2 separate regions of the Homo sapiens genome follow, and region 1 is linked to region 2. Evidence: promoter capture Hi-C in 16 types of primary human blood cells and fetal thymus (Javierre and others, 2016). All regions are on one chromosome and are shown on one strand. The core of a region is centred on a gene start or on the middle of the fragment in contact, and the rest is flanking DNA. Distances in the headings are between cores, read along the strand shown.

Region 1 (3,711 bases), core at 428-2,927, 280 kb before region 2:
TTTTTATGATGATTTTGTTTCCATGGATTACATTCCCAGCAGTGGGATTTCTGAGTCAAAGGGTATGTATTGTTTCAATTGTTAGAGATAATCAGGTTGTTTTCCCAAAGGGCACAAAATAAATGGCATTACTCCTTACCCTGATTCTGTGCTGGCAATGGCCATCATCAATTTTTATGATTTTTACTAATTTGATGAGTGTAAATGATACCTCAGTATTACTTCAATTTTTGTCAGCCTGGTGCAAGTACTTAGTTTGAGCTACAAGTGAAATTTAACATGTTTTCTTAAGCTTATTAGCTATTTAGGGTATTCTTCTGTGAATTTGCCTATTCATTTACTTTACCTAGTTTTTAAAAATTGAGTTGCTTGCATTTTTCTCATAAGTTCCTAAGAGTACTTGGTATTTTTTTCCCAAATCTGACAATTACATCTTGACTTATGATACCTTATACAAAAAGTTCATATTTGTTGTATCGTGTAATTCTGTTTTCTGTTTTATATTTTCTGGGCACTCTTGAGTTGAAGAGGACTCTCCTATACCTTGCTTCTATAGATATTTTTTGCTAACTTTGAGATTTATATTATTTTACTTTTTAAATTAAATATTTAATACAAATTGCAATTTATTTTTTTTTTCTTTTAATCCACCCATCTGCACACTGATATCTAGTATAGATAGTCCATATCTTGTAAGGTAGAAATTATTTCTTCATAGATGAATTCATTGTGCCAGCACCTTTCTTTTCCCACTGAATTTAAATAATACTTTTGTAATATATTAAAAGTGCATATATACTGGGATCTATTTCTGGATTCGCTCTTTTTTTGTTTATCTTATCCTTTTGTGTATTTTGTAACTTTCAGATTGATTTAACTACAGGGGATTTTTTTGTGTGGTCTAAAATCAAGTAAGGCACGTCCTGTTGCTACTCTTCTTTTTGATACTATTTTTGGCTATTCTCAGAACTTTATTCTTTTATGTGAACTTTAAGCTTATTTTATCCTACTTTAAAAGACCAATCTTATTGGAATTTTAATCGAAATTTTTATATCAGTTGAAGTTTTACAATTATTTTGGGAAAGATGTCATTTTATATTAGTATACCCATCCAAGAACATGGTGTCTTTTCATTTGTTTATATTTTATTTTATTCCTTCAACAAGATTGTAGTTCTCTTTATATGGTCATTTGGCTTTCTGTTACATTTGTTCTTAAGTATGTTATAGTTTTTACAGTATTTTGTATAAAATAGGTGTTCCATTCCATTCTTGTGTGCTTACTGCTATTATAAGGAAAAGCTATACTTCTAGGAAAATCTTATTTATATTTAGTAATATATCTAATTGTTTTTATTGCTATTGTTTTTTTAAGGAAAGCTCTCCTTTTTTGGCATACACATTATCATCAGTAAAAGGATAGGCTTTTCTTCTCTAATGTTTATACTGATTTTCTAGACTTACTGCATTTGCTAAACCTTCTGGAACTTTCAGAATAATGTTGAAAAGTAATAGGCATTGTGACCATCCCAGTTCCTTGTTCTAATTGAAAAAGTTCAGTAGTTTGCTGTTCAGAATATTTTCTGTTAATTTTGAAAACTATTGGCCGGGCGTGGTGGCTCATGCCTGTAATCCCAGCACTTTGGAAGGCCTAGGCAGGTGGATCACCTGAGGTCAGGAGTTCAAGACCAGCCTGGCCAACATGGCGAAACCCCGTCTCTACTAAAAATACAAAAATTAGCTGGGCGTGGTGGCACGCACCTGTAATTCCTGAGGCAGGAGAATCACTTGAACCCAGGCAGCGGAGGTTGTGATGAGCCGAGATTGCACCACTGCACCCCAGTCTGGGCGACAAGAGCGAAACTACATCTGAAAGGAAAAAAAAAAAAAGAAAAACGAACATATATATATAAGAAAAAAATATATATACATATATTTTTTCATATATATATATATATATATGTTCGTTTTTCTTTTTCTTTTTCTTTTTGAGACGGAGTTTTGCTCTTGTTGCCCGTGCTGGAGTGCAATGGCTCGATCTTGACTCACTGCAACCTCCGCCTCAAAAAGGAAAATATTTTAAATAATTCTTTTTATTCACTTAATGCTTTTGTTAGGATTGGTTGCTGAATTTTTTGAAATGCCTTTCCACATTTATTAATATTATATATTTTCTTCCTTTATAATTGTAATAAGGTATGTGGATTTCCCAGTGTTGTATTACTGACTAGTTATAGGTTATTCTTTTGATCATTACTTATAAGCAAGATTAGTTTTTAGCAGTTGTGTTGTTGTTATGGGGGGAGGTATAAATTACCGTCTCTCCCAAAATCATAAAATTGAGTTGTGAATGAATTGTGAAGCTTTCCATCTTATTCTATGATCCTAATCTGTAAAATGATGATGATAATAGCATTTGTCTCTGGATCGCTGGGAAGATGAAAGGTATTAATGTGAACTGCTTAGTACAGTGCCTGAATTGTATGTGTCAGCTATCATTATCATCATTACCATCTGAAACAGATTAAATAATTTTGAAAGTTTTTAGTTCTTTGAAGGTTAGGACTTAGCTAGTAAATCATCCAGTTCAGGTGCATTTTATAAGGGTAAATCTTCTTTCAATCCCTTTAGTACTCATCGCTCTGTCCATTTTTTCCTGCTTCTCCTTGGTTTATTTTGGAATTTGTTTTTTGGTAGGAAACCACCTATTTCCTCTAGATTTCCAACATTATTGCTGAAATAATGCACATAGTTTTATTTTATAATTCTTTTAATAATTTCAATAATTTACAGCACATTTTCTAATTAAGACCAGAAACTACTCTAATGTTGTAGTTAGAAATGTTGTTACATTATGACCTCTTCTTGGACAGGATGCTCTCTGATGTTGAAATTGTAATAACTTTTTTCATGTAAACTAAAACAAAATATTTCAGATACTTTTGCCTTAAAGTGTTTCTCAGAATGAGAATGGAGAATGTGGACTATATACGTTCAGGGAATTTATATCTCAGTTTACAATGTTGTTCCTAGCATATAGCACCAAGCTGGCTCAGAGCGAATGCTCAGCAAATATTTGTTAAATGAATGAATGAAGAAATGGGTGAAATATAATCCTGTTGGATAATAACTGAACCAGGTAGATTTTTTGAGGAATTTTTTAAATGGTAGATTTTTAATTACCTTTCCAAAGATGATTAGTACTAACCTTGGATATGTTTTGCCACAGTTATAGTATATTTTATATATAAAATAATTTAATATTTCATTTTGGATACAGTGCATGCTAATGAAAAATTCATGTTGAAAGCATTGTGTTTTTTTTTGTTTTTGTTTTTTTTTGTGACGGAGTCTCGCTCTGTCACCCAGGCTAGAGTGCAGTGGCATGATCTTGGCTCACTGCAAGCTCTGTCTCCCAGGTTCATGCCATTCTCCTGCCTCAGCCTCCCAAGTAGCTGGGACTTACAGGCGCCCACCACCATGCCCAGCTATTTTTTTTTGTATTTTTAGTAGAGAAGGGGTTTCACCGTGTTAGCCAGGATGGTCTTGATCTCCTGACCTCGTGATCCACCCGCCTCGGCCTCCCAAAGTGCTGGGATTACAGGCGGGAGCCACCGTGCCTGGCCTGAAAGCATTGTTTTTAAATTAACTGCAGTTTACTAAATGAGTAAACCAGTAGTCAGGACTTACTGATAGATCTCATAGTCTTTA
Region 2 (3,558 bases), core at 674-3,173:
CTAGGACACAGACCATAGTCCACTTTGTATTTCTATATGTCCATCTCCCCCAAGAGCCTGGGGGCTTATTTAAGGCACACAATGAGTTGTACCCATTTCTGTGGCAGCCTGACTTTGCAGTGGGGACAGAGGACATGGACGTCAGGTTTAGCCAGCCGTCCATCCCACCACAGGCCAGCGTGGGGGCTTGCGTGCATCATGCCCTTTGCAGGGTCTCGGTGTTCCCACTGTGGAGCAGGGATGATGGCAGTGACCCCACAGGACTCTTATGGGCGGCAAATGACACCCAAGCCCACTGCAAGGCCTCTGACGCTCCTTCAGCCAATCCTCTCCTTCCCTGGACCTTAGTATCCTTATCTGTAAAATGGTGGCGGTGGATGAGAGAGCTTGGACTCGCTGATCGGAGGTCCCTGCCAGCTGGAACAGTGCTGGGTACCCCATTGCAAAAGGAAGGTGGCTGGTTTCTCACAGAACTCCTCAGGGACAGCTGGGAAAAGCTAGTGCCCAGGGCTGGGAGATTGCTGAGACCAGGCTTCTTGTAAACAAGAAAGGCAGGAAGACGGGGTTCCCTCCTCGAATCGTCAATTAATCAATAACTTGGCCTGAGAAGGGGCAGGGCCAGTGACCTCCAGACTGTTTGCTGGCGGCGCAGCCACTATCACCCTGTCTTCCAACTAATTCACAAACCCTTTGCAGCGCCCTCCCCAGCCCCCACAACCTGCCCCCTGCTGTCTTATCTGCAGGCTCCCTGCCCTGGCCCCAGATTCCAGACCCTTGTCCTGTCCTGGACTTTCCCTCTCAGGGAGCCCCTCTGCCCACAGCGTCCTCTCCATTGCCCGAACCAGCCAACTCCCAGCAGCGCTTCAGTCACCAGAGGCACAGCCTCGGAAAAGCTTCCCGGTGTCTCACATCTGTGTCCCCACCAGGTGGGCTTCCTTCCTCTAGGCCTCCAGATTCCCGCTCTGGTTTCTCCTCGGGCACTTGGACACTTGTGGAGTTATTTACAGCCTGGGCTTATCTCTCTCAACTTAGAGCGCAGCTCCTCCGGGAAGGGGCTGGTGTTTACTCCTCTCTTCACCACCCCCAGCCCCCTGAGCAGGCACTCCCTTCAGCTCGGCACCAAGCCTCTCTCTCCCTCCTACCCCTGCGTGAATAATTTCTATCTAAAGGAATGCCCTGCACATGTGCACAGTGGCATCTGACAGCTTCTGAGGTCCTTTCAGGAGCCTCTTCTCATCTGATTTGAGGGAGGTGGGGAGTCTCACCCTCCCGTGACAGAGGAGGACAAGGAGGCCCCAAGAAGTAGAGTGACACTTTCCCAAGGTCGCCCAGGTGGAGGGGTCAGGAGTGTCTCAGCGGAACTCCCGCTAGGGTCAAGGAGACTGACGGACAAGGACCGCTCCTGGGCTGGCCGCTCTGGATTGCGCCCCCTGAACAGAATGTCTTTTTCCATCTGCCCCTGCGGAGGTGGCCAGAAACTCCGTGGCCCTTGCGCCACCGTCAGCTGCACAGGACCAGGCGCTTCCATTGTGGTCCACGCCCGTCTCACTCCCTTTTCGCAAGCCTGCGGGAGGCAGGGACATTTTACAGAGGAGGAAACAGAGGCTGAGGGATGACTTGCCCACGACCGCCAAGCCAGCTTAGGCTCCCGGGTCTTGGTGCGCTCGCCCCATCCAGGGGACCCCAAAACGCCCTCCGCCGCCCCAGTCCCTGGCCTGTGCGCGTGGACGCGGGGTCCCTACTCACAGCCACTTGATGCCATAGCACACGCCGGTCTGGAGCGCCAGGGCGAAGAGCAGCGCCTCGCAGACCTGCGGCCGCGCCCTCATCGTCGCGCGGCGGGCGCGCCCGGGGTCACACCCAGGAGGAGCCGCGCCGAAGTCCTCCGCCTGCACGGCCGCCGCTGGTCCTGCACGCCGCCTGCAGCCGGGGAGAGCGGAGGCGGCGGGTTAAGGCGGCGCGCGGGCGGGGGAGGCGTTTTATTCAAATTACAAAGGAGGGGTCGGGGCCCGGGGAGGCCGAGCGCGGCGGGCGTCCCCTCCCGCTCCGCCCGGCCGGGGGACGCGTCCCGCGCCTGGCTCGAATTAGGCGCGGCCGAAGGCGTGTCTCCCAGCGTGGCCCCGGGCCCCAACGCGCCTTCGAGCCCCTCTGGCCGGGGCAGCCGGAAGGAGGGACAGGAGGCGGCAGAACCGGAGACCCAGGAGAGACCGGGCAGACACAGCGAGAGGGAGAAGGACGCTCAGAGGACAAGGCTGAGAGCCACGGAGACAGAGGGGGAAACCCGGACAGACGCAACCTGGGACGGAAAGGAGAGGAATGAGGAATCAGGAGTCCAGGCGAGGCAGCAGAGTCGAGGACCCGGAGCTGGGGCTTATCCCTGCAATATTGAGCATTAGTTAATAGGGCCTCGGCAATTCTCCTTCCCAAACGTGTTTCAGTTTACCTCCTCAGTAAGCTGGGGCAATTCGGGCACAATTCCGCTTTTATAAAGAACGTTCCCTGGCCGGGCAGGGTGGCTCACGCCTGTAATCCCAGCACTTTGGGAGGTCGAGGCGGGCGGGTCACCTGAGGTCAGGAGCTCGAGACCAGCCTGCCCAACATGGCAAAACCCCGTCTCTACTACGAATACAAAAAATTAGCCGGGCGTGGTGGCGGGCGCCTGTAATCCCAGCTACTCGGGAGGCTGAGGCAGGAGAACCGCTTGAACCCGGGAGGCGGAGGTTGCAGCGAGCGGAGATTGCGCCACTGCACTCTAGCCTGGGCGACAAGAGCGAAACTCCGTCTCAAACAAACAGACAAACAAAAAAAGTTCCCTAACACGATCGCATCTGCTCCTCCCAGCACCCCGTGAGATAGGCACTATCGCTGCCTCATCTCACAGATGAGGAAACTGAGGCACAGAGGTGGGGTTCAGCTAGGGAGCGGCAAGCCGGGTGTCCGGCGAAATCAGGAAATGGGGCTTGCTCGGGGCCCTGCTTTCTCGGTGTGGGAAGGGGAGGATGGGAAACGGGATGGTAGGGCTCTTTGTACAGTGAGGATTCCGAGTCTCCAAGTCCGTCTTTAGCCGCTCCACTTTGGAGGGTGGGAGTGGAAGCATGCGGGCTGGGACTGGGCAGCCCCGCCTTAGCGAAGCGGGGAAGCTCGCGGGGCTGGCGCGGTGTTGCCTCTGGCCTCCAGGCGGCGCCCTCGGGCCGCGGAGGAGAGGCTGCCCCGCCCGCCCGCAGCCCGCGGAGCAGCTATCTCCGCTTTTTTTCTCCTTCACTTCATTCTCACCTCATTAACTCCCTTCCCAGCTTCTCCCAAATTTACCAACACCTGGCGTTCGCCCGGAGTCAGACACAGCCCCAGCCCCTCTCCCCTCGGGAGGAGCAGAGACAAAGGGATTCCTTTCTAAGGGTTTGGGGAGTTGGAAAAGGAGGCGCCCACGGTAGTGGGGGCGCTGGAGCAGAAAAGGGACGTTCTTATCTGGCTCTGTGAGCTTGGGCAAGCCCTCAGCCACCCCAGCCTCGGTGTCCCCTTCCATAAGAACGAGGAATGGGGCTTCGCCGTGCGTCCCCC

What was found. The method cuts DNA at HindIII sites, captures the fragments that hold promoters and counts their contacts. A CHiCAGO score of 5 or more calls a contact.
Region 1: a fragment that was not itself captured here is called in contact with the fragment with the promoter of WNT11 in region 2 in 1 of 17 cell types (megakaryocytes); the score reaches 5.1 in megakaryocytes.

The regions. Positions count from the first base shown.
Region 1 is chr11:75,921,062-75,924,772 of GRCh38, forward strand. The region is part of intron 6 of UVRAG (UV radiation resistance associated); the gene reads left to right. Among named protein-coding and RNA genes, the nearest start is that of UVRAG, 110 kb to the left of the region's middle. The HindIII fragment of the contact is 1,368 bases long and covers 994-2,361 here.
Region 2 is chr11:76,204,579-76,208,136 of GRCh38, forward strand. WNT11 (Wnt family member 11) reads right to left here and starts at 1,924. Exons shown (of 5, transcript NM_004626.3): 1 at 1,747-1,924. The coding sequence starts at 1,829. RefSeq lists silencers at 1,837-2,076, 3,057-3,276 and an enhancer at 2,381-3,048. The HindIII fragment of the contact is 7,460 bases long and covers 892-3,558 here.